Linked DNA regions of Homo sapiens: all the other regions are linked to region 3. The links are contacts of gene promoters, found by promoter capture Hi-C in blood cells and fetal thymus (Javierre and others, 2016). All regions are on one chromosome and are shown on one strand. Each heading gives the region's core, a stretch centred on a gene start or on the middle of the fragment in contact. The rest is flanking DNA. Distances are from core to core; before and after follow the strand shown. Region 1 has its middle 13 kb from the start of TERB2. Region 2 has its middle 79 kb from the start of TERB2. Region 3 holds the start of DUOXA1 (dual oxidase maturation factor 1). Region 4 has its middle 31 kb from the start of SLC28A2-AS1. Region 5 overlaps TERB2 (telomere repeat binding bouquet formation protein 2). Region 6 has its middle 26 kb from the start of GATM. Region 7 has its middle 47 kb from the start of SLC28A2-AS1.

The links. The method cuts DNA at HindIII sites, captures the fragments that hold promoters and counts their contacts. A CHiCAGO score of 5 or more calls a contact.
Region 1: a contact is called between a fragment that was not itself captured here and the fragment with the promoter of DUOXA1 in region 3, in 1 of 17 cell types (neutrophils). The highest score is 5.0, in neutrophils.
Region 2: a fragment that was not itself captured here is called in contact with the fragment with the promoter of DUOXA1 in region 3 in 1 of 17 cell types (neutrophils); the score reaches 5.1 in neutrophils.
Region 4: a fragment that was not itself captured here is called in contact with the fragment with the promoter of DUOXA1 in region 3 in 1 of 17 cell types (M2 macrophages); the score reaches 5.5 in M2 macrophages.
Region 5: a fragment that was not itself captured here is called in contact with the fragment with the promoter of DUOXA1 in region 3 in 1 of 17 cell types (naive B cells); the score reaches 5.3 in naive B cells.
Region 6: a fragment that was not itself captured here is called in contact with the fragment with the promoter of DUOXA1 in region 3 in 4 of 17 cell types (naive B cells, total B cells, M1 macrophages and 1 more); the score reaches 6.5 in naive B cells.
Region 7: a fragment that was not itself captured here is called in contact with the fragment with the promoter of DUOXA1 in region 3 in 2 of 17 cell types (naive B cells and activated CD4 T cells); the score reaches 5.6 in naive B cells.

Annotation. Positions count from the first base shown.
Region 1 is chr15:44,942,177-44,945,218 of GRCh38, forward strand. No RefSeq gene overlaps it. Among named protein-coding and RNA genes, the nearest start is that of TERB2, 13 kb to the right of the region's middle. The HindIII fragment of the contact is 6,507 bases long and covers 1-3,042 here.
Region 2 is chr15:44,876,352-44,879,503 of GRCh38, forward strand. It overlaps the pseudogene SORD2P. Among named protein-coding and RNA genes, the nearest start is that of TERB2, 79 kb to the right of the region's middle. The HindIII fragment of the contact is 7,075 bases long and covers 1-3,152 here.
Region 3 is chr15:45,128,600-45,131,963 of GRCh38, forward strand. It overlaps DUOXA1 (dual oxidase maturation factor 1), which reads right to left and starts at 1,280. Exons shown (of 9, transcript NM_001276266.2): 1 at 1,253-1,280; 2 at 861-1,016; 3 at 419-535. DUOX1 (dual oxidase 1) reads left to right here and starts at 1,395. Exons shown (of 34, transcript NM_175940.3): 1 at 1,395-1,499; 2 at 3,319-3,364. The HindIII fragment of the contact is 6,225 bases long and covers 1-1,817 here.
Region 4 is chr15:45,308,177-45,311,690 of GRCh38, forward strand. No RefSeq gene overlaps it. Among named protein-coding and RNA genes, the nearest start is that of SLC28A2-AS1, 31 kb to the left of the region's middle. The HindIII fragment of the contact is 1,802 bases long and covers 1,049-2,850 here.
Region 5 is chr15:44,966,737-44,970,088 of GRCh38, forward strand. All of the region lies in intron 5 of TERB2 (telomere repeat binding bouquet formation protein 2), which reads left to right. It also overlaps the pseudogene LOC100187725. Among named protein-coding and RNA genes, the nearest start is that of TERB2, 12 kb to the left of the region's middle. The HindIII fragment of the contact is 5,681 bases long and covers 1-3,352 here.
Region 6 is chr15:45,350,866-45,354,014 of GRCh38, forward strand. No RefSeq gene overlaps it. Among named protein-coding and RNA genes, the nearest start is that of GATM, 26 kb to the right of the region's middle. The HindIII fragment of the contact is 245 bases long and covers 1,422-1,666 here.
Region 7 is chr15:45,324,346-45,327,752 of GRCh38, forward strand. No RefSeq gene overlaps it. Among named protein-coding and RNA genes, the nearest start is that of SLC28A2-AS1, 47 kb to the left of the region's middle. RefSeq lists an enhancer at 1,917-2,847. The HindIII fragment of the contact is 2,053 bases long and covers 1,014-3,066 here.

The sequences.
Region 1 (3,042 bases), core at 310-2,809, 190 kb before region 3:
GACACTTAAGTAGCTTCTTGGATCAAAATGGCTTCTAGATACTAAATGCCACTTAATTCAGCACTATTCTTTGTTGGTCTGTATAAGTAACACTTTAAAACTTGCAGCTCTGGAAAGAGAGAGAACTTTACTAACAAAGTAGAAAGTGATTTCAAACTATCTTCCACAAAAGATTGTACTGGTAGGCGGTTGAAAACATTCTATTCGATCCACTTTCAAATTTCTAGAGAAAATCATTTTGGAATACTACTGTACTGATTCTTGGCCTTCGTTGTCTCTAAAAGTGCTGATTTTAACATTATCTTAAAACTGTCCAGTTTGAATTGAGCTTGTTTTCATCAATATACACATTGAAAATTCCTGGTGTAGAAAACTCAACATGTGCTGAATACGGGGTGTACTTCCCTTCAACTACCTAAAAGGCTGAACTTTTGTTAAATCTTAAAGAAATGGTCCCAACAGCTTAACTTCATTTTTTTAATGATAGTTGAATGTGTTTTCCATAAAAATTTACTTTAAAACGAGGCAACTGATTAAAACAACAACATGGCCATCACCATTATACAAGTAATGTTATTGAGTTTACAACTGAAGTTCTGTAAAATTGTTTCTAGATCGATACCCCGAGGAGCAACCCTGCATTATTATATCAACCTTTTCCCTTCCCCTAAACCGTCTCAAAAAACCCCTGGATTAGCACACTGAGCTAAGCCTCTGTCACAAAAAAAAAAAAAAAAAAAAAAAAAAGAAGGGGGAGGTGAAGAAAGAAGATACCAGCAAGATGCAGGAACAATATGCCTGGTGTACTAATACTTGTGTGAAAATATATTTTTAAATACTATTTAAACCTAGATGCTGAGTGTGCAGACACTCTCAGAAAAGATACACAGGAATGCAGTCACACTGGTTGTCTCTTGGGAGGGGAGCTGGGGCTGGGAGGAGGAAGGGATAAGAGAGAGATTTACTCTTCACTCTAGGTCCTTTGCATCTTTGAATGTTGTACTCTGTGCATGTACTATCTATTCAAAAACAAACACAGATAGTCCCCAGCTTACGATGGTTTGACTTAATATTTTTTGACTTCACAATGGTGCAAAAGTGATAACCATTCAATAGGAACTGTACTTCAAGTACCCGTACAACCATACTGATTTCTACTTTCAGTATTCTATAAGTTACGGGAAATATTCAACACTTGATTATAAAAGAAGGTTTGTGTTGGATGATTTTGCCCAGCTGTAGGCTGATCTAAGTGTTCTGAGCATGTTTAAGGTAGGTTAGGCTAAGCTACGATGTTCAGTAGGTTGGGTGTATTAAATGCATTTGCAACACGATATTTTCCATCTACGGTGGGTTTATTGAGATGTAACTCCATCATAAATTGAGAGCATCTGTACAATACACACAACGGGACATGATTCTGCCTTAAGAGGAATAAAATTCTGATACAGCCGACAACATGGATGAACCTTGAAAACATTATGCTAAGTGGAATAAGGCAGACACAGAAAGACAAAACCGTATGATACCGCTTTCACGAGGTACCTAGAATAAGCAAATTCACAGAGACAAAAAGCAGAATAATGGTTACTAGAGGCTGGGGAGTCACTGTTTAATGGGTACAGAGTTTGTCTGGGATGATGGAAAAGTTCTGGAAATGGATAATGGTGATGGTTGTACAGCATTGTGAATGCACTTTAGTGGCACTGAACTGTACACTTAAAAGTGGTTAAATGGTAAGTTTTATGTTACAAACATTTTACCACAATAAAAAAACAAGTATAGGCTGGGCACAGTGGCTCATGCCTGTAATCCCAGCACTTTGGGAAGCCAAGATGGGCGGACCACTTGGGGCCAGGAGTTTGAGACCAGCCTGGGCAATATGGTGAAACCCCATCTCTACTAAAAACACAAAAATGAGCCAGGCGCCAGTTAAAAAAAAAAGAAAAAAAAGCAATACATGCATTATATTTTAAATTGACATTAAATGTGAATATCTGTAATATTGACTTACCTATCACCTGTTTCCTTTTCTGTTAACAGTATCTTGCATTTTTTCTTTCTTTCCTTCTTTCTTTCTCTTTTTTTCTTTCTTTCTTTCTTTTCTTTTCTTTTTTTTTTTTTTCAGAAAACACATTATCCATCCCAATCCACACCATAAAATTAGTCACATAACTCAGGCCTGGTAAATCACTGTGCTTCATCCCATATAAGAGATAAATGGTAAAAGACAGTAAAGTGCTGGGCACATTGGCTTACGCCTGTAACCCCAGCACTTTGGGAGGCTGAGGTGGGTGGATCGCTTGAGCTCAGTTTGAGACGAGCCTGGGCAACATGGAAAATCTCATCTCTACAAAAATAATGAAAATTAGCCAGGCGTGGTGCATGCCTGTAGTTCCAGCTATTTGGGAGGCTAAGGTGGGGGGATTGCTTGAGCCCAGGAGATTGAGGCTGCAGTGAGCCAAGATTGTGTCACTGTACTCCAGCCTGGGTGACAGAGCAAGACCTTGTCTCAAAAAAAAAAAAAAAAAAAAAGAAAAGAGAAAAGAAAAAAAATTGAAACCCAATCCAGACAAATCTGAAAATGTTCATTTTTCAGGGGTCATTCATCTTCACTTTTTTACAAGCCAGTTTGAATTGCTTTCAGTAATTCATAAAAGAAACAGCCCTTATTTATGAAAATAATGGAAATTATGAAAATTAAGAGATATGTGATAGATAGTGGGATAGGAAGGGAAGACAAGATGCTTTTCATTTAATATCATTTTACAACTTAAAATTTTTATTGTTATCTATTTATTTTTCAATAAAGAAATAAGGTCAGCATAGTGGCTCATGCCTGTAATCCCAGAAGTTTGGGAGGCCAAGGCGGGTGGATCACTTGAGGTCAGGAGTTCGAGACCAGCCTGGCCAACATGAGGAAACCCTGTCTCTACTAATAATACAAAAAAAAAAAAATTAGCTGGGCATGGTGGCAGGCACCTGTAATCTCAGCTACTCAGGAGGCAGAGGTGGGAGAGTCCCTTGAACTTGGGAAGTGGA
Region 2 (3,152 bases), core at 399-2,898, 250 kb before region 3:
CCCATTTGGCCCAGGAAGTCCAGCTGGCTCCACCTCTCACCAGCACTTTGGGAGGCCAAGGCAGGCATATCACCTGAGGTCAGGATTTTGAGACCAGCCTTGCCAACGTGGCAAAGCCCTGTCTCTACTAAAAATACAAAAATTAGCCGGGCATGGTGGTGGGCACCTGTAATCCCAGCTACTTGGGAGGCTGAGGCATGAGAATCTCTTGAACCCAGAAGGCAGAGGTTGCAGTAAGCCAATATCATGCCACCGCACTCCAGCCTGGGTAACAGAGTGAGACTCTGTCTCAAAAAAACAGAAAACAAAAAAACTAAGTTCCCCACAAAGTTATTTCAGACTTTGCCCAGGAATGAACAAGGACAGCTTGGAGGTTAGAAGCAAGACGGACTTGGTTAGGTTGGATCTCTTTTACTGTCTCAGTTATGTTTTTGCAATGGCGTTTTCAATCCCTTCCTTTGGGTTTTATAACACCTTAATCTTAAGGTGTTGGCTAATGAAGATGGAGAAAGGGCAAAGACCACTCTAACTTCTTCCTGCTGACCAGGGGCATAGTCGGGGTAGGTGTTGACCCCAAGGTGAGAGGACTGGAATCATTTTGCTACTGTCTGAACATACTCACGCAGGATGGCTGAAAAATGTGTTAGTATTGTCATCTATAATTTTAGTATTGCATTTAAGGGAACAGCACACTACAAAGTAAATAATGAGTTCTAGCATAAGGCATGCAATTCCAACTTTTAAAAGTAAAGATTTGAAAACATTAATTTGGAGACTTGTAGTCCATGAATAATTTAGGATTTAGTCCAAACTGCAGAAAAAACTCAAGAACAACTAACAATGATTGTTTTTTATTTTTGGAGCATAATTTTTCTGTCTCCAGTCCCCATTTTTTAATTAAAAATAAATCACAGTAGGTCAACTTTACTTGCAAAATAAGTTTTAGTCTTATTATGCTCTGCCTGATTACTTGCATAAGTGCAGCAACAATAATTATTGTTCACATAGGCTTTTTAAATTGGCTTTGATGGAACTCTGTTCCATAAGGAATCTCAAACAAGACTTTTTTAAAGCCAGGCCAAGCCCATGGGTTTGTACCCTCAAATAACCATGAGTTGGGTCAATTCCTCTCCTCTTGAGGTCCCAAGATAACTTGGGGCTCCTGGGCCTGTTAGAAAGTGACATTCTTTACTCACCACAGATCAGGAACCCTGTACAGGGACTGTGTAGACAAGGCATGAGGCCAGTTTTCCCAAGGGGCTTTGTTTTCTCTGTTTTGTTTTGTTTTTGAGACAGGATCTTGCTCTGTCACCCAGACTGGAGTGCAGTGATGCAATCTCTGCTCACTGCAACTCCATCCCCCAGGCTCAAGCAATCCTCCCACCTCAGCCTCCCAAGTCGCTGGAACTACAGGCATGTGCCACCACACCCAGATAATTTTTGTATTTTAAGTAGAGACGGGGTTTCACCAAGTTGCCCAGGTTGGTCTTGAGCTCCTGAGCTCAAGCTATCTGCCTGCCCCGGTCTCCTAAAGTGCTGGGATTGCAGGCATGAGCCACCATGCCTGGCCTCAAGAGGCTTTTATTCCTTAAAGGCAAGCATACGATTCCAGTCAAAGCCTTGGTAAAATAACCAGTTTCTTCAATTTTGTCCTGTTGCAAATGAAAACATTCTTATTGCACTTATGGAAGTAACTATATTGCCATAAGAATACTCACAAATAGTTACCAAATCCTGGCAAAATCAGGAAGAGAGAATCAAATATGCTCCAAATTTTGTTTACAGATGTGTACTTTACTCAATATTAAAAGCTGTAAATAGCTCAAAAGAAAGGTTTTCTTGGCTCTGAAAAACAAAAAATGATCAGCAATGTTTTAAACAAAAAGTCAAAAAAAGTTGCCTCAGTCTTCTATTAGTTCAGCCCATGCAGTTAACTTCCATTCTGCTTAGTATTCATGAACATTTCAGCTCTCAATGAGAGTCCTGAAAGTTTTTCCTCTATTCTAATGTCACAATCTCCAAAGTTTTCAGAAACCTGCATTTAAGAGCACCTGTCAGAGTGTTATAGCTGATTATAAAACCATTTAAAGAGGATCAAAAGACAATAATTGTCTGTGGATGACAAAAAGTTTTAGGCCAGCCACAGTTAAAGACACAATTGACAAGGAAATTTGTTACTTCTGGGGAACACAATAATTTAACATAGCAATTATAATTATTAATGATAACATATACAAAGTCATATCAGAATTACAGGAGTTTCACATAATTTTGGAACATATATCAATAACACAAAAATCTTTTTCAAAAGAGAAAACCAAATTTCATGTTTGCATTAATGCCTCTTTAATGCTAAAGCTAGTTTTTAAATAAAATGTTATAAATTATCCAGTTTTAATTAGTTTGACCATAAGGTAAGGTTTTTATAAACTTTTTTAGAACACTTTACAATTTTCCATTAAACAGCAGATTAATTTTCTAAGAAAACCCTTTTGTTTAGACACAGGGGCCCAGATTCTGGCCCGGCATTAGTGTGCTTTTATGTTCAACATACAGAAAAAAATTAAATAATCCCCTTCAAAACTTAAGACCAACCCTTCACAAACACTTTTCAACTTGCTTAAACCTTCAGTTTTGTCCTGTTACTCTTTTAGGTTAAGACGATCTTTAAAGCCCTCTGAACTAGACAAAATTACATTCCCTTTGACAAAAGCCATATTCCCTTACCTTATTTAATCCTTTAGCTAAAGCACATTCTACTTTCCTTACACATCTTGCATGTAAAACAATTTCTCCAGCAGTCTCAATTACACGTTACAACGTTAACACTTAGCAACTTTTGTTTTTGATGAAAACCCTGATAAATAAGTGGTTTTAATTATGTACTAAGTGTGGAGCCTAGGACATCAGACAGAAATGCAGATAAGGTCTGCCTCCAGCATAGCTAGGGGGCATGGCTAATTCCACATGTCCCCAGACCTTAGCTAGAATTTCTAATGGCTCCAAAGTAGGTAAGTCTAACAATTTTCGAAAGTCAAAGAAACAGTTTATGACTTTAAAGCATTTAGCAAACCTAACATCTGACCTTATTTAGACCAAACATCTAAATTGTGAAGACATTTTTTATTTACCAGTGATCTTTAAAACTGTTT
Region 3 (3,364 bases), core at 30-2,529:
ATATGTGTGTTGTTGCACAAAAATAGGAGTTAAGTGGAGAAATTGAACAAGATCTGAAAAGTGGATTGGAGGCAGGATTCCCCAGTAAGGGCTGATGTGGATAAGGAATTCAAGGGTGCAGAATCATGCAAGCCAAAGTATCCAGACTCGAGTTAAACTGGGATGGCGATTCGATGTCTATAAACCTTGTGGCATTTATGGCCTTAAGAGGTTTTCCTTGCCTCCCCAGTTTCTTACCAAACTCTCTCTTTGAAGAACTCCCACTTGATCCGAACTTGGTCTGGATGAAAGCAGGAAGTGCAGCCCTAGGTGCCAGGGCGGGAGCAAGCACTTCAAGACCCCCTCCAAAATCACCTGGACCGCACAGATCTAAGCAGCCGCATCCCCCACCACCCACACCCGGACCACTATTCCCTACCTTCCCCTCTTCCAAACAGTGCGTGTGTGGCAGCCTGCGCCTCTCGCCTTCCCCCGTGGAACCTCACACGAAGCGCCCCCGGGGGTGTGATTAAAGAGGGAACCAGGTCCCGACGTTCTGTGAACAAACGCGCGCCCTTACTCTCAGTGGGGCTCCCGTCCGACCCCCACTCCTCTCCTAACTCACGTAAGGACCCGGCTGTGACCGGACAAACCGGGTCTGGGGTGCTTCCAGTCACTCTTCAAGTCACTCCCAAACTTCTCAGACTGCACCCGAGGCTCTGCGGCGCCGCCTCCCTCTCCCGGCCTGGTACAGAGAAGGGCTGGGTGCGCCAGGACAGTAGTACCGGGGTCTGCCAGCTCCGCAGAGGTCCCTCCAATCCCCCCTCCTCCTCTGCGCCCCCCCACCCATGCCCAGCAATCCCAGCAGCTCCAGCGCAAACCTAGCGACGCAGTTCCGGGTCTGGCGGGGCGCGGGCGCGGCTCGCAGGGCGGTGGGACCCCCAAGACCTCACGAGGATCCCCGGAGGGAGACGTGACTCCGGGGTCTTAGAGGGGTTTAGGTCGGATGGGTGACTTGCTTTGACGCCTGGCCTGGTCTGTGGGTGGCAGGTGATCGATGGCCTTGGACTTGGAGCCCAGACCCGACGGTGTCGAGAGGATCTGAGGAGAGTCTCCCCTCCCCATACCCTCTCCGCCTCCCACCCTCTCCCCAGCCCCATGGGACTTGTGAAGGCGGACTTGCTTTTTTCGCCGTCCACACAACCGCACTAGCCGGGCCTTCGGCACCGACGGAACATCTCTACCTGCGCCCCGGGAGCCCTCGCCGTCTCACCTCGCGCGCTGCCGTCCGCTGGAAGCACCTCCGCGCCTCCCCAGGCGCCAGACTCCATCCCGCCCCACTGCGCCCCGCCCCGTGGCTGAGCCGAGCCGGGCCGTGCCTTCCCCTCCTCACCCCCAGCCCCGCCCGTCCCGGCGCAGAGCTGCAGAGGCACCGGACGAGAGAGGGCTCCGCGGGCCCAGCTGGCAGCCAGGCCGGAGACAAGTTGCAGTCCCGGGCTCTGGTGACGCCGTGGCCGCAGGTCAGATTTGGGAGGGCTTTTCCCGGCCCGCGGGCCTGGGCGCTCCGGGGGAGGGAGCTCCAAGGGCAGGGTGGCGGGGGAGCCGCAGCTCCTCCACGTTATGGAAGAAAGGGGAATGCTAGCCCCCTGCGCCTCCGATCTTATCCTAAGGCTAAAACCGGTCCTGTTAGGGCCTGTCCTCTGCCCAATCAAGGTTTTGAGAGACTGGGTTCTTTGGGACCTGGGAATGTTGGGTGGCCTAGTTTGCCTGGGCCTGCGGGTTCTTCTCCTGGCACCAGCACAACATACCAGGGAGGGAGCTTTGGGCTTTAGGATCCAAGCTTTCCCCCTCAGCCCTCCCTTAGGACCAAGATGGCCTTGACCCATCTTCCTCCCACCTCAGGGCCACCAGGGTCACCACTCTAGGGCTTCAGGCTGGAAAAGCAGCCATGTGGGGCAAGAACAGGCAGGCCTGTGTTCTCTCTCTGGTTCTGCCGCTGGCTCTGCCTGGGGCTTCACTGCCCTGTCCTGGGCAACCTTCCTGTCAAGGTTGTTGAGAAGTTACTGCCCCATCGTTGTGTAAATCATTAAGGGCAACCCACCCACAAGGAGTGGTTATTAAGCATGTCCACCTTCCTCTTCAGGTCATCCCCACACAGCCTGGTCTGAAAGCCCATTTCATGCCCTTAGGGGCTGAGTGGTACATTAGCGTTGAGGCCCAGGATCCTGAAGACATGGTGGTGGCGGGGGAGGGGAATGACATCTTGGGATCAGGGAAGGACCGCTGTGGCTACTTCCGTATATCCAGCTTTACAGCTTCAACCATCCAGAGCCCAGCTCTTCATGCACTATTAAAGGCCAGCACCTGGACAGACTCTGTGAAATGCAGCAGGTGATACTGAGCTTTCCAGTTATGGCAGGGCCTAGGTTTTTTCATTTAATAGGAGATGGAGTAGGGATGAGGTCACTCCCTGGGTTCTCTCCTCTAGACAACCCATCCAGGAACCCTGATGTTTGGCTGGGGATGAGGCTTTCCCTGAGCTCCTTTCTTCCTCTATCCTAACCCCAATCTCCAGGTTGCCTTCAGGAGGTCTTCGCCGGCTTTAGGTACTCCTTACTCGCACTCAGGAGTCCCAGCCTGAGTCCTCTGCTGCCTCTGTTTCCCTGTTGACTCTGGGTGGAGAGAGAGAGAGCAGGAAGCTTGCACTAAATACATGAGCACCTGGTAGTGCATCCCTTCTGGATCCAACCAGAGGAGACAAGCTCCCGCCTACCCTCTCTATATCACATTTGCCCAACACCTGTCACTTGCTTTGAATTAAACCTCCTTCTCACATTTGATTCTGGCAACCATGCTTAGAAGTAAACAGTTCAGGCATATTTGCTCCCATAGCTGGAAGAGGAAAACAAGGATCAGATTGGAGAAGTGATTTATCTAAGATCCCACAGTGGACTGGGAGCAGCACTGAGACCTCAGCCTAGTCTCCTGATCCCCAAGCAGGGCCCTGCCTAAGGAACACACTCTGCAGAGTGCTGGGCCAAAGCAGGGTTTTCCAACTAATCTTAGAAGGTAAAGTCCATGAAGGTATGTACCAGGGATTTCTGTTTGTTTTGTTCGTCACTTAATCTCCAGTGTCTATGTCAGTGGCTGGTATGTAGTGGTGCTCATGAAGTATTTGCCGAATCAATTAAAGAATTTTCGGAAAGAGTGAGTCTCTTGAACTTTGCTACCTACTGTGACCTTGGCCCAGCCCCAGGCCTTGATTCACAGAGGCCTGCAGAGTCTTTCACCTGATTCTTCTGAGTAGCTGGGGCTCATTCTTTGCCTGTCTTTTTCTAGGGTCTCCATTTTGGGACATTCTAATCCCTGAGCCCCTATTATTTTC
Region 4 (3,514 bases), core at 700-3,199, 180 kb after region 3:
GGCTGGATGATGGGGTTGCCATTTTCTGAGGTGGAGAAGGCTTGGGGAGGAAGAGGTTTTGGAGGAGGGGATGGTGGATAGAATCAAGAGTTCAGGGGCCTGACGCTATGGCTCACACCTGTAATCCCAGCACTTTGGGAGGCCGAGGCGGGCGGATCACCTGAGGTCAGGAGTTCAAGACCCAGCCTGGCCAACATGGTGAAACCCTGTCTCTACTAAATATACAAAAAAGTAGCCAGGCATGGTGGCACTCACCTGTAGCCCCAGCTACTCAGGAGGCTGAGGTAGGAGAATTGCTTGAACCCAGGAGGCAGAGGTTGCAGTAAGCTGAGGTTACACCACTGCACTCCATCCTGGCTGATACAGTGAGACTCCGTCTCAAAAAAAAAAAAAAAAAGAGTTCAGGGTGGAATGTTAATTAAATTGGCCTTTCTCCCCAGGCATTTAGGTTATTGTTTGGATGCCACTGGTCCAGGCTAGAATGGGTTTTGCTCTGATCTACTGTGTAATAGAATGACTTGGCCTGGTTTATTTGGTTTAAATTGGCTCACAATTGGCATTCATTAAGTTAGAAACTGTTGTTAACACAGTGCCCCTAAAGAGAAATAGGAAAATCAGCTTACATTTGTACTGTCTTTTCTGATGTGGGCATTTGAGAGTTAAAGAGAACTGTCCAGGCTCATGCCTGTAATCTTACCACTTTGGGAGGCCAAGGTGGAGGGATTGCTTGAGGCCAGGAGTTTGAGACCAGCCTGAGCATCACAGGGAGACCCCATCTCTACAGAAAATTATAAAATTAGCCAGGCATGGTGGCACACACCTGTGGTCTCAGCTACTCAGGAGGCTGGGAGGTGGGAGGATTGCTTGAGCCCTAGAGGTCGAGGCTGCAGTGAGCCATGTTTGCACCACTACACTCCAGCCTGGGCTGCAGTGATGCCCTATCTTTAGAAAAAATAATAATAATAATAATGGGCTGAGCATCTTCTACATTTTTTGTCGCATTTGTTTGCACTCTATTCATAAGGAGCACACAGTCTCGAGGACAAGAAGCTTCTGGAAAATGCAAGCCCAGTTGTTTTGGTGGATCCTTCTGAATGATTATGCACAGGTAAGATCCTGAGTGTGATTGTGAGGTGGCAGAGAGGAAAACTTCTTCCATTGCAAACAATATCTCTGAAGATAGAGAACATATTTGTCCTATTTTATCCCCAATATAGTGCTTAATAACATATTTACACAGTAAGTGCTGAATGAAGCTGCTCCACCTGGGTTGTTTTCAGTCTCCAGACCTGTGTTGAACTCTCTGGAGGATTTGAAACCCCTCTTCCCGAAGAGCTGCTACATAATTAGCTGTGTGATGGGACGAGGTGCCTCTCTGGACTCAACAGGGCTTAGGACCTCATTTCCGGGGGTGCTAGGAAAAAGACACTTCTCCTTCCTTCTTCCTACACCCCCTTCCATGGAGGTCTTTTGCCACCATCAACACCGTGTTAAGTCAGAATTTAAAACCAACTTAGCCCTCAACATTGATGTTTTCATTTGTAACCTCAAGGTGGAACAGTTGGTTATGTACTGTGCCCATAATCAGCAGTTACCTCAGTCTTTTTCTTTGATTCATGCTTTGCCCTCTCTTTGTGCCCTACCCTTTTGTTTCGACTATATGCTATTTTGAGGGCAAGAATTGTATCTTTTTAAACTTTATATTTCCATACGACTTATTTTTGTCTCTTTTTTTTGTAATAAAAAGTGTATATTTTAAGTAGTATATACATAAACACAGTGAAACGATTACTACAGTCAAGCAAATTAACATATCCATCTCCTCATGTTACCTTTGTGTGTGTGTGTGTTTGCATGTGTGTATTGTGATAGCACTCGAAATCTTCTCTCCATCAATTTAGAACAGTTCTTTACAGCACTGGCAAGGGGAAGGAATGGCCTGGGAGAGCCTTATCTCCCCCCCGCCGGCCACCAATTTTCATAAACTCCGCAACCCCCCTCCAGAATCATAATTAATACATAAACAAAAGTTTGTAATTATAGACAGAAGCATATTTTTGGTCGGGCGCAGTGGCTCACGCCTGTAATCTCAGCACTTTGAGAGGCAGAGGTGGGCGGATGACTTGAGGCCAGGAGTTTGAGACCAGCCTGGCCAACATGGCAAAACCCTGTCTCTACGAAAAATACAACAAACGAACAAACAAAAAGCCCCACGGGTGTGGTGGCATGCATCTGTGGGCCCAGCTACTCTGGAAGCTGAGGCAGAAAAATTGCTTGAACCTGGGAGGAGGAAGCTGCAGTGAACTAAGAATGCACCACTGCACTCCAGCCTGGGCAACAGAGTGAGACCCTGTTTCAAAAAAAAAAAAAAAAAGCATATTTAGAACACACATTATTTACTACGCAGAAGTAGCCTTGAGACAAGTCCTCTAGCTTCCCCTTCCCTCCAGATTGCTACCCCAGTCTCCCTTGTGAAAAACCTGCCACTCCCACTGCTCAAGAAAGTGTTAACAAACTGTTGTTAAAGGACAGGAGCCAATGCCTGGCGAAGGCTGCAGCATTCCTCTGAAAGCTGGGGTAATGTTGTTTTTGTGCTGGTGGCCTGTCCTCTAGATTCGCAGAAGACTCACCCTTATATAACTTGGGGTTCTTGTTTTCCTGATCCAAAGCTCTTTATTTAATAAACTCTTTGGGATAATGATATGTCTGAAGCCCTCTGAAAAGTTCCCTTTGAACTTTTATCTGAAATGATAAGAAAAAAGTCAGGCTGCACCTGGAATTCAGACTTTGTTTCAAGTTCTTTCAAAGCAATGCAGATATGGAATATTTAAACAAACTACAATTCTGGAAAGCTTTTTAAGTGAAAGTTTTGGTTCTTAGCTTTTGGAGGTGTAGTTTGGAAATATCATACCACATTTAAGCCTCAATCTAAATAATAAAATGTGTAAAATAGTTTTCCTATATACTATTTTCCCCAGTTCAAAAGATTTTGTCTTAGTCCAAGCTTTTTTCATAAAAATTATAATTGTTTGATAGTATAGTCAGTTAAAAAACCAAAATATGAGGTTTAAACATTGAAAAGGACGTGGTAAAATTGTCATTATTTGCAAATGACATTATCATATATACCTGGGAAGCCTAAGGGCATCAACTTAAAAGTTATTAGAAATAGGCCAGGCGCAGTGGCTCACGCCTGTAATCCCAGCCCTTTGGGAGGCCGAGGCAGGTGGATCACAAGGTCAGGAGATTGAGACCATCCTAGCTAACACGGTGAAACCCCGTCTCTACTAAAAATACAAAAAAAAAAAAAAAAAAAAAAGAGCCGGGTGTGGTGGCAGGCACCTGTAATCCCAGCTACTCGGGAGGCTGAGGCAGAAGAATCGCTCAAACCCAGGAGGTGGAGGTTACAGTGAGCTGAGATCACACCACTGCACTCCAGCCTGGGTGACAGAGCAAGACTCTATCTCTATTAAAAAAAAAAAAAGAAGTAATAGGAGCATTCACTAAGGCAGTC
Region 5 (3,352 bases), core at 141-2,640, 160 kb before region 3:
TATTAGGATGAAAAGTGGTGAGTGATTTCCCATCTTCTTTCCAAATTGCTTTAATATATTACGTTGGTTTAAGAAATTAAATTTGGGCATTGTGCCGCATGCTTGTAATCTCAGCACTTAGGGAGGCTGAAGCCGGATGACTGCTTGAGCCTAGGAATTTGAGACCAGTCTGGGCAGCATAGGGATACCCCACCTCTATAAAAAATTTAAAATACTAGCTGGGCATAGTGGCACATACCTATAGTCCCAGCTATTTGGAGGCTGAGGTGGGAGGATCGCTTGAGCCCAGGAGGTTGAGACCGCAGTGAGCCGTGATCACGCCACTGCACTCTAGCCTGGGTGACAGAACAATACTCTGTCTCAAAGAAAAACAAGAAATTAATTTAAAAAGACAAACAAACATGGCCTTGCCATTGTATTAGGAACAGTTTATAAGAGGCCTTCTCATTGCAGGCTTATACATGATCTAGTCCTAGCTTCATATTTTCCAATTCAGTTGGTTTTCAAATATTCATAGGGAACATTGGTTCTTCAGAAGTCTGTTTTATCCCTCCAAACCTGTGGCCGGAGTCAATCTAAAAGTGGAGGCAGGGGAATCCCCACAACGGAGTGCCCCAAACAGTCCCAAGCTGGGGCCAGTTGGGATTCTAAAGAAAGAACCACTAGCTAGAGTAATCAGTCTAAAGCATTTATTGAGGGAACTTGCAGAGTATCGCACCAATCCTTGCAATGGACAAGATATAAGGGGTGTTCTACCTAGGTATATCCACAGTGAGGGGGTCTGGGTATGGAGTTTATATGAGGGTTTAAGGAATCTGGCTCAGGGCTGAGGCCAGTTTCTTTCAGTGTTTTGAGCAGCAACCTAGATACCTTTATCAGTGCCTGGAAATGTTTAAGGTCCTGGTTTGAGTTCAAGCCTGATGGGAAAACCCTGCACTGGGCTGTCTCACAGAGCAGTCAAAGCCCTCTGTGATTTTTGGTCAGGACACAGAAAGCAAGCCAGGAGTGGAATCAGGGGAGGGGAGGATGGGACTGGGGTACCCTACAGTCTGGTATTTAGCTGCTGTAATATAAATGATCAAATAGTAGTTATCTTTCTTCAAAATAAAAAGTAATGATGTAATTTATATAATTTTTTCAAGTTTTTCTCCCATAAGGGCTAATTTCCTTAATATACAAAGAGGTATTAGAAATCTGGGAAAAATATGTCCAATCCAAAAACAACAGAAATGGACAAAGGATATGAATAAACCCTAGGTAGGTGTCTACTTAGAGCCTTTTCTCTGTGGAAACACCAGAGGGTGCAGTGTGAACACAGATAAAATATACCCTCAATTTACCTGCTGAAGCATTTGTTAGCATAGTACTAGGGACGTTGATTTTTTTTACATCATACAAACTTGATGTATGAAAAATCAGGCAGTACAGAATTAGTATAAAATCCTAATTTCTCCCAAATCCTCTCCCAGTGATAACCTTCATTTTTTGTTTTTAATTGAGACAGAATCTTAGTCTGTTGCCCAGGCTGGAGTGCAGTGGCGTGATCTCGGCTCACTGCAACCTCTGCCTCCTGGGTTCAAGCAATTCTTGTGCCTTGGCCTCCCGAGCAGCTGGGACTACAGGCACATGCCACCCCACCACACCAGCTAATTGTTTGTATTTTTAGTAGAGACGGGGTTTGGCCATGTTGCCCAGGCTGGTCTCAAATTCCTGGCCTCAAGTGATCCACCTGCTTCAGCCTCCCAAAGTTCTGGGATTGCAGGCATAAACCACCCGTGCCTGGCCGAAAAATCTTATTTGATATTATGATGTGTACTGGCAGCATATGGCATTTCATTTTGTTTAACCTTTTTTTTTTTTTTTTTTTTTTTTTTTGAGACAAAAGCTCACTCTGACCCCCAGGGGTGGAGTGCAGTGGCACGATTTCAGTTCACTGCAGCCTCAACCTCCCAGGCTGAAGTGAGAGATCCTCCCTCCTCAGCCACCCAGAATGCTGCTAGGATTACAGGCATGAGCCACCACACCTGGCCTAGAATTTGTTACTTTTATGACACTTCCATGAACATCTTTTTAAAAATAAATCTTGCTCTACTTTTTTGATAGTTTTCTTCATGTAAATTATCGGATGTGGAAATTATGGTATAAAGAGGAGTTTTTTTTCTTTCTTAAACACCTTATTTATTTACTTAGTTTGTGTGTGTGAGAGAGAGAGAGACAGGATCTTGCTGTGTCACCCAAGCTGCAGTGAGGTAGCATGATCATAGCTCACTGCAACCTGGAACTCCCAGGAGTTCAGGCAATCCTCCCACCTCAGCCTCCTGAGTAGCTAGGACCGCAGATGTGGGCCACCACGCCTGGCTAATTAAAAAAATTAATTAGACAGGGTCTCGCTCTGTCACCCAGGCTGGAGTACAGTGGCACAATCTTGGCTCACTATATCCTCTGCAACCTCCACCTCCTGGGTTCAAGCAACTTTCGTGCCTCAGCCTCCTGAGTAGCTGTGACTACAGCTGTGTACCACCCCGTCTAGCCAATTTTTCTTGGTGTTTTTAATAGAAACTTTTTTTTGCCATGTTGGCCAGGCTGGTCTCAAACTCCTGGCCTCAAGCAATCCACCCTCCTAGGCCTCCCAAAGTGCTGGGATTATAGGTGTGCGCCAACTCGCCCAGCCTAATTAAATTTTTTTTTTGTCAAGATGGCATCTCACTATGCTGCTGAGGCTGGTCTTGAACTTCTGGGCCCAAGGTATTTATTAATTAGTATAGTAGCAGGCCAGGCATGGTGGCTCACACCTGTCATCCCAGCACTTTGGAAAGCTGAGCCATGAGGATAGCTTGAGGCCAGGAGTTCAAGACCAGTCTGAGCAACAGAGAGAGAGCCAGTCACTACAAAAGATAAAAAAAAAAAATTAACTGGGTGTAGTGGTGTACTCCTGTAGTCCTAGCTACTTGGGAGGCTGGGGCAGGAGGATTGCTTAAGCCCAGGAGTTGAGGTTTGCAGTGAGCTATCTATGGTCATTCCACTGTGCTTCAACCAAGGTGAAAGAGTGAGGCCATGTATCAAAAAAAAAAAAAAAATTAGTAGCATATATCTGTTTCTTAGAATATGGAGCTGGAGGGTATTCTTTCATATTGGAAATAAACTACATAATATCATACAGTATGTTCAAATGCATATACTAAAGAACTCTACAAAATTTTAATCAAAATCTACGTTTAGTTTGTTAAGTAATTTCTTGAGAGAACCACTGAGAGACAGTGTCCTTGTGATCAAATGATGAGTCTCTTCAGAGTTAAGTCTTATAAAGGAAATTTTTATTATGTTGATCCAAGTAATGCAGTAGTGGCACATT
Region 6 (3,149 bases), core at 294-2,793, 220 kb after region 3:
TTAAAAAAAGAAAACCAATTCAATCAGCTTTTCAATATTTTCCACTGAATTACCCCTAATAGCAGAGGACAGCAAACACATACTCTGGAGAATATGGGGTGTGGCCAAAGTGGCCAAGGAAATCACAAAATTTCTTTGAAGTCTCCTTTTTAAATATTAAAATTCATATGAATTTTTCATTTTATACCATACTAATGCAAAGTGTAAAATACACATTAAAATATGTTTTAAATTATCATTCAGAGGGAAAAGTGTTCTACTTGTCTCACTGGTTCAATGAAGAAGCTGCTTTTCATCGATTCTGTCCATGTCAGAAAACTGGGCTGAACTGAAAGCAGCTAACACCAGATTCATCATTTAGGCAATCTGTCTTCTCTGTCTTGGAGAAGTTTTGAACTCAGTGACTCTAGAACCCAGACCTACAAAAACATATTGATAAAATTGCAACAGTTTTTCACTGCTTTATGTGCGATGAAAGGGTAAAACTAGGAAATATTCTTAGAACGCTGCTGGAGAGAAAGTTATGGTGCAATATTTTCAGGTTCCTGTGAAAGAAAATTTCAATAGTTGCATCATCCTACTTACAAGCAAAATAACCTACCTCATATGATGGGGTCTCCAGTCTGGTTACCCTCTCACTGTTTCAGGAACATTCATAAGAGCTGGAATGTGGTATCTTTTTTGTCAGCACTTCTTTTAAAATGGTCTGAGACTACTTACTAAATCAGAACTTCTGGGTGCAGGGCACTAGAATCTGCATTTTAGCAAGCCTTCCAGGTTGTTCTGGTGCACATTACATGTTTAAACATTTTCTGGAAGAACATAAAATGAAAGAAATCAATTTCAGTGTAAAAAGAATCAGAAGAAACAATAGAGAAGAAAATTGGGACAATTTTATGACTTTCTCCAGCAATGATTATCTGATCAGGCAGAGAGTAAGTTCTTGCTGAGGGTTGTAGCGGACAAGTTAATTTCCTTCCCAGCATCCATTTCCCCCTTCTCCCTCCCAAAAGAATGTCATTTTCTTCATCCCTCTTTCCTGCATCAACGTGCCCCAAGTGAATGCCACCCTCCCAATTCCAAAGGTAGTTCGGATAAATCCCATCCTAAATGCCAATGACTGGTCAGGAATGGGCAGATGACCCAAGGGGCCAACAAAATATGATAGGAGTCCTGTTAAGGGGATTCTAGGGAAAGTTTCTGCTTCTATGAAAGAGCTACACAGAAAAAAGTAACACTAGGTTATGATCCCAGGAACTGCTGCCTTCATCTTGCTGTCAGCCTAAGGATAAGCCAACAATGAGGGAGGCTTTCCATCCAGAAAGATGGAAAAAAACTTGGTCATAAGGTAGTTGAATTTCCTTACTGCTAAACTTCCTATTGTGTGCAATAAGTTTTCTTGTTTAACCTACTTTAAGTAAAGCTTCCATTACGTGCAACCAAAAGGAACCCAAATCATGTGGGGGTTATTCAGGGTTGATGTTTTAAAAATGAAAATTTGAATATGGCGTGGCAAAGTGGGTGTGACCACAGAAGGAAATGACAACCAGGCTTGAATGGAAGTTTACTGTACTCACAGGCCCAGAGAGGGGTCACCACATACCACACAGGTCCACAAGGGAATCGTCAAGTTTTGGTCATGTGGCGGAAGACAGGAGCTGGGGGAAGCTTAGACGTGAGTCTTTGTTGAGGTTTCCTTGGGAAAGGCAAGGCAGAGCAGAGAAAGCAGCTTGGGATTGACTAGTTTGAATAATTCTGACCAGCTCTGGGCTATAGGAGTGGTCTGCAGTTGCCTGATTTAGAGCAGGGGAAATATTGGTTTGGTGTCTGAGAGATCGATAAGGAGATGGCAGGGCTATCGACTTGGGATTGGTTGGTTTGTATATGAAAAATGTGCTCCTAGCCAAGCCCTTTGCTATCTCTAAGAATTAGCAAGACCTGAAAGGGGCAGTCTTTCTCTGGCCAGCAAGATGTCAAAACATCATGAAATACAGAAAATAAAAAACACAATTAATACAACTGGATATCTTCAAAACAAATAATGGCAGTTAAAAGCATAAGATTCCAGAGTGTTAGTAAGGGTTCTTCAACTGTAAAAAGAGTCCATTTAAACCAAAGGAGTAGAGTTCTAGGGAGACATGATTGTCTGAGAAGCACATTTATCAGAGCTAACCAAGCAAAAAGGGGAGGTGAGAGATGAAGACAGGGAAGATCAGAGGCATTTCCGGCAAAGGGAAAATGTGTAAAATCCCTGGGGCAGAAGAGAGCATGGCTCTGGGGTAGCCAGAGTGGAGGGAAGCCAGGGAAAGTGGCAGTGAGACAGGCTGGAGGTGGGCGGACGCAAGGCCATGTGGGGCCCTGTAGTCCATTGTAAGGATTTGGGACTTTGTTTTAGAGAAAAATGAGAATTCCACTGAGAGACTTTGCGGAGATGGGGAGAAGAGGGGACCAGATTTCCGTACTGAGAGGTCAGTCTGGCTGCTGAGGCTTGAGGAAGCTGTGGCAATGGTTCAGGTGAGAGATATTGGTAGCTTGGACTAGAATGGAGGCAGCGAGGATGAAAAAAATAAGTAGGTTGTTGATTAATTTGTTCTAAGCTGAAGGTGTACATTTGGCAGATTTCCTATAGATCATAATGAAATCATGGGTAGTAAAGTGAGGGAAGGATCTAGTGAAGAATGAGAAAGAAATAGGGCCTTGAAAAGAGTCCTAAGGAAGCCGAAGACTTTCGAGTCCTTTAGACTCCAGGGCTTGGTAAACTTATCCTGTAAAGGATCAGATAGTAAATATTTTAGGCTTTGTAGCCAAGAATCAGAATCAAGATATTATGTGGGTACTTATATAACAGAGAGGAAAAAGAAGCCATAAAGCTGTTATCGACAAAATTCAAAATATAATAAAAATTGAGGACAACCTTTTTATAATATAGTTCTACCAATGAGAAAAATGAAATTTTCTTTTGGGGGAATGATAGTTTTGCTTAATTGGCGTTCACTGTTAGTGTTCCCTATTATCAAAATAAATTGTAAATGTTCATCTATTAATGTGATGAGATTTTACATCTTTATATATTTCAAATGTCTTTTCACACAGACACATAATGCCAAATGCTGATATCAATTCAGGAACGTACAATCTTTTTTGTTTTT
Region 7 (3,407 bases), core at 790-3,289, 200 kb after region 3:
GCTGAGGCAGGAGAATGGCGTAAGTAAACCCGGGAGGCGGAGCTTGCAGTAAGCCTAGATCACGCCACTGCACTCCAGCCTGGGTGACAGGGAGATTCAGTCTCAAAAAAAAAAATAATAATAATAATGCCTCACATTAGCTACTATGTCTCTCTCTCTTTTTTTTTTCTTTTTTCTTTTTTTTTTTTTTAAGACAGGGTCTAGCTCTGTCACCCAGGCTGGAGTGTAGGGGTGTGATCATGGCTCCCTGCAGCCTCAACCTCCCGGGCTCAAGTGATCCTCCCACCCCAGCCTCCCGAGTAGCTGGGACTACAGGCATACGCCACCACACCCAGCTAATTTTTGTATTTTATGTAGAGATGGGGCTTCACCATGCTGCCCAGGCTGGTCTCAAACACCTGGCCTCAAGCGATGCTCCCATCTCAGCCTCCCAAAGTGCTGGGATTACAGGGGTGAGCCACCATGCCCGGCCAGCAACTATGTCTTATAAGAACTTCACAGACAGTTTTAGAGTCCTTCCAAGGGACATATTTGTTACAAGAGACACAGTACTCAGGGAATCTCAAACTAAAACCTCTTAACAGAAATTTATAGTTTAACTAGTTCAGATACAGTTTACCAATCAGGGTCATTTTACCATAAGTAGGTTGTCAAGCAACAAAAGTGACATAGTTTCCTTTCTCCTTCTCCTTCTCCTACTACAACTGACCCTTGAACAACACAGGTTTGAACTGCATGGGTCCACTTATATATGAACTTTTTTCTGCCTTTGCCACCCCTGAGACAGCAAGACTAACCCCTTCTCTCCCTCTTCTTCCTCAGTCTACTGAACACGAAGATGATGAGGTGAAGACCTTTATAATGATCTACTTCCGCTTAATAAAGATATATTTTCTCTTCCTTATGATTTTAATAATGTTTTTCTTTTTTCTAGCTTTCCTCATTGTATAAATATAGTATATAATACATATAACATATAAAATATGCTAATCAACGGTTTATGTTATTGGTAAAGCTTCTCATCAAGTAGTTAAGTTCCTGGGAAGTAAAACATTATACTTAGATTTTCAACTGTGTTGGGAGGTCAGCACCTCTAACCCCCAGCTTGTTCAAGGGGGAACTGTATTACTATGATCTATTTTTTACCCATAGAACATGTCTGACACCAAATATGTGGTGTTTTTTTTTTCCCATGCCAACCTCAAATTCTCCTTCTCTCCAGAAACCAACTGGGTATCCAATAATTCAATTGAATTCAATTCTGACACTAGTTACCTGGTGTTAGTATCAGATGGCACAGTTGAAAGGGCCCAGTCCCACAAGACTGCCCACAAGACTTCAGATGCCAATCACAAGCTGAGCCTCCCATACTTCTGTCTTAATGGCTATAAACTAGGGGTTTCCACAACCCTCTCCTCAGGTTCAATAATTTGCTAGAATGGCTTGTAAAACTCAGGAAATCATTATACTGACATTTAGCAGTTTATTTATAAATGATATTATAAAGGCTACAGATGAACAGGCAGAGGACAAGGTGTGAAACGGGAGATGTGCAGAGCTCCAGTGCCCTCCCTGGGCACCCCACCCTCTCGGTGTAACTGTAGCAGATCCATTGTCCCATGTGCACAGCAAGTCAGTAGGCAGAGACACCAGGGTGCAGCAGAGAAAGAGGTTTAATTGTAGGGTCTCCGAACTAGGAGATGGGAGGAAACCTCAACTCCATCTCCCAAGCAATCTGGGGCTAGAGATTTTGTGGGCTTTTTTTTTTTTTTTGCGATGGAGTTTTGCTTGTGTCGCCCAGGCTGGAGTGCAATGGTGCCATCTCGGCTCATTGCCACCTCTGCCTCCCAGGTTCAAGCAATTCTCCCGCCTCAGCCTCCAGAGTAGCTGGGATTACAGACTCCTGCCACCATGCCCAGCTAATTTTTGTATTTTTAGTAGAGACAGGGGTTTCACCATGTTGGCCAGGCTGGTCTTGAACTCCTAACTTCAGGTGATCCACTCACCTGGACCTCCCAAAGTTTACAGGCGTGAGCCACCGTGCCCGGCCTGGGGCTAGAGATTTTAAGGGTTTTGGAGTGGGCTGAAGTGTGAAGATCATTGATTGGTTGAAGAGTGCAGGGTAAAGTCATGGGACAGAAAGATGAAGAAGCTGTATTCTCATGCTGATTCCATTTCTCTGTGGGGGTCTTCAAACTGGTTGGTTTCAGCTGTTTCACTGGAGTTTGGGATCTGAAAACATCTTAGGCAACCTTCAAACAAAAGCCATATGATTCTAACGGCGGTGATCCTGTCTATAGGAATAATGGGGGTGCAAATGGGCAGTATCTAGTGCTATTGACTTTCAGCAACAAGGAAATGAGCCAAAGTGCAGCCTGATTAAGGCTTAATTATAACGAAATTTCTGCCCAGAACTCAGCATGAAATCCTTGTCAACCCTGTGGGGATGGCTTCATCAGCCGCTCGATGTGTTTTCCAACTCAGAAGCTCTCTGAAGCCCTTTGTTTAGGGTTTTTATGGAGGTTCTATTACATAGGCGTGATTGCTTAAATCATGGGCCATTGGTGATTTACTCAATCCAGCTTTTCTCTCCCTCCCTCGGGGTGAGTAGGGCTGAAAGTTCCAATCCTCTATAATCACATGTTTGGTTCCTCTGGCAACCAGTGCCCATCCTGAAGCTATCTATGGGCTTCCAGCCACCAGTCATCTAATTAACATAATTCATGTACACTCGAAAAGAGCTTGTTGAAAATAACAAAAGATGCTCCTGTCACCTCGATTGCTCAGAAAATTCAAAGAGTTTTTAGAAGCTCTGCGCCTGGAACCAGGGATAAAAACCAGCGATTTTAACAAAAGACGCTCCTGTCACTCCTATCACTCGGGAAGTTACCAGAATTTTAGAATCTCTGTACCAGAAACTGGGGGCCTGAAGACCCAATATGTATTTCTTACTATATCACAGTATCACAGTCCTTATTAGGTTGCCAGTGGAAAAGATGTAGAAAGTTAACCAAAAGTCAAATTTTCATGTAGGAGAGAAAAGGTTTTGCTAACACTTCACCCACAAGCTTCTTTATCAACAAAGTAACTCATCATTGGAACCTGTATGCTCTATTTATATTTTCAGTATACATTAGTTGGCCAAAATTTAGGTATAAAAGTAGGGATAGCAACAAAAAAAGAAATCATTTCTTCACTTCTTTTTTTTTTTTTTTTTTTTTTGAGATGGAGTCTCACTCTGTTGCCCAGGCTGGGGTGCAGTGGTGCAATCTCGGCTCACTGCAACCTCCGCCTCCTGGGTTCAAGCAATTCTCCTGCCTCAGCCTCCCAAGTAGCTGATTACAGGCATGCACCACCACGCCCGGCTAAGTTTTGTATTTTTAGCAGAGATGGCCATGTTGGCCAGG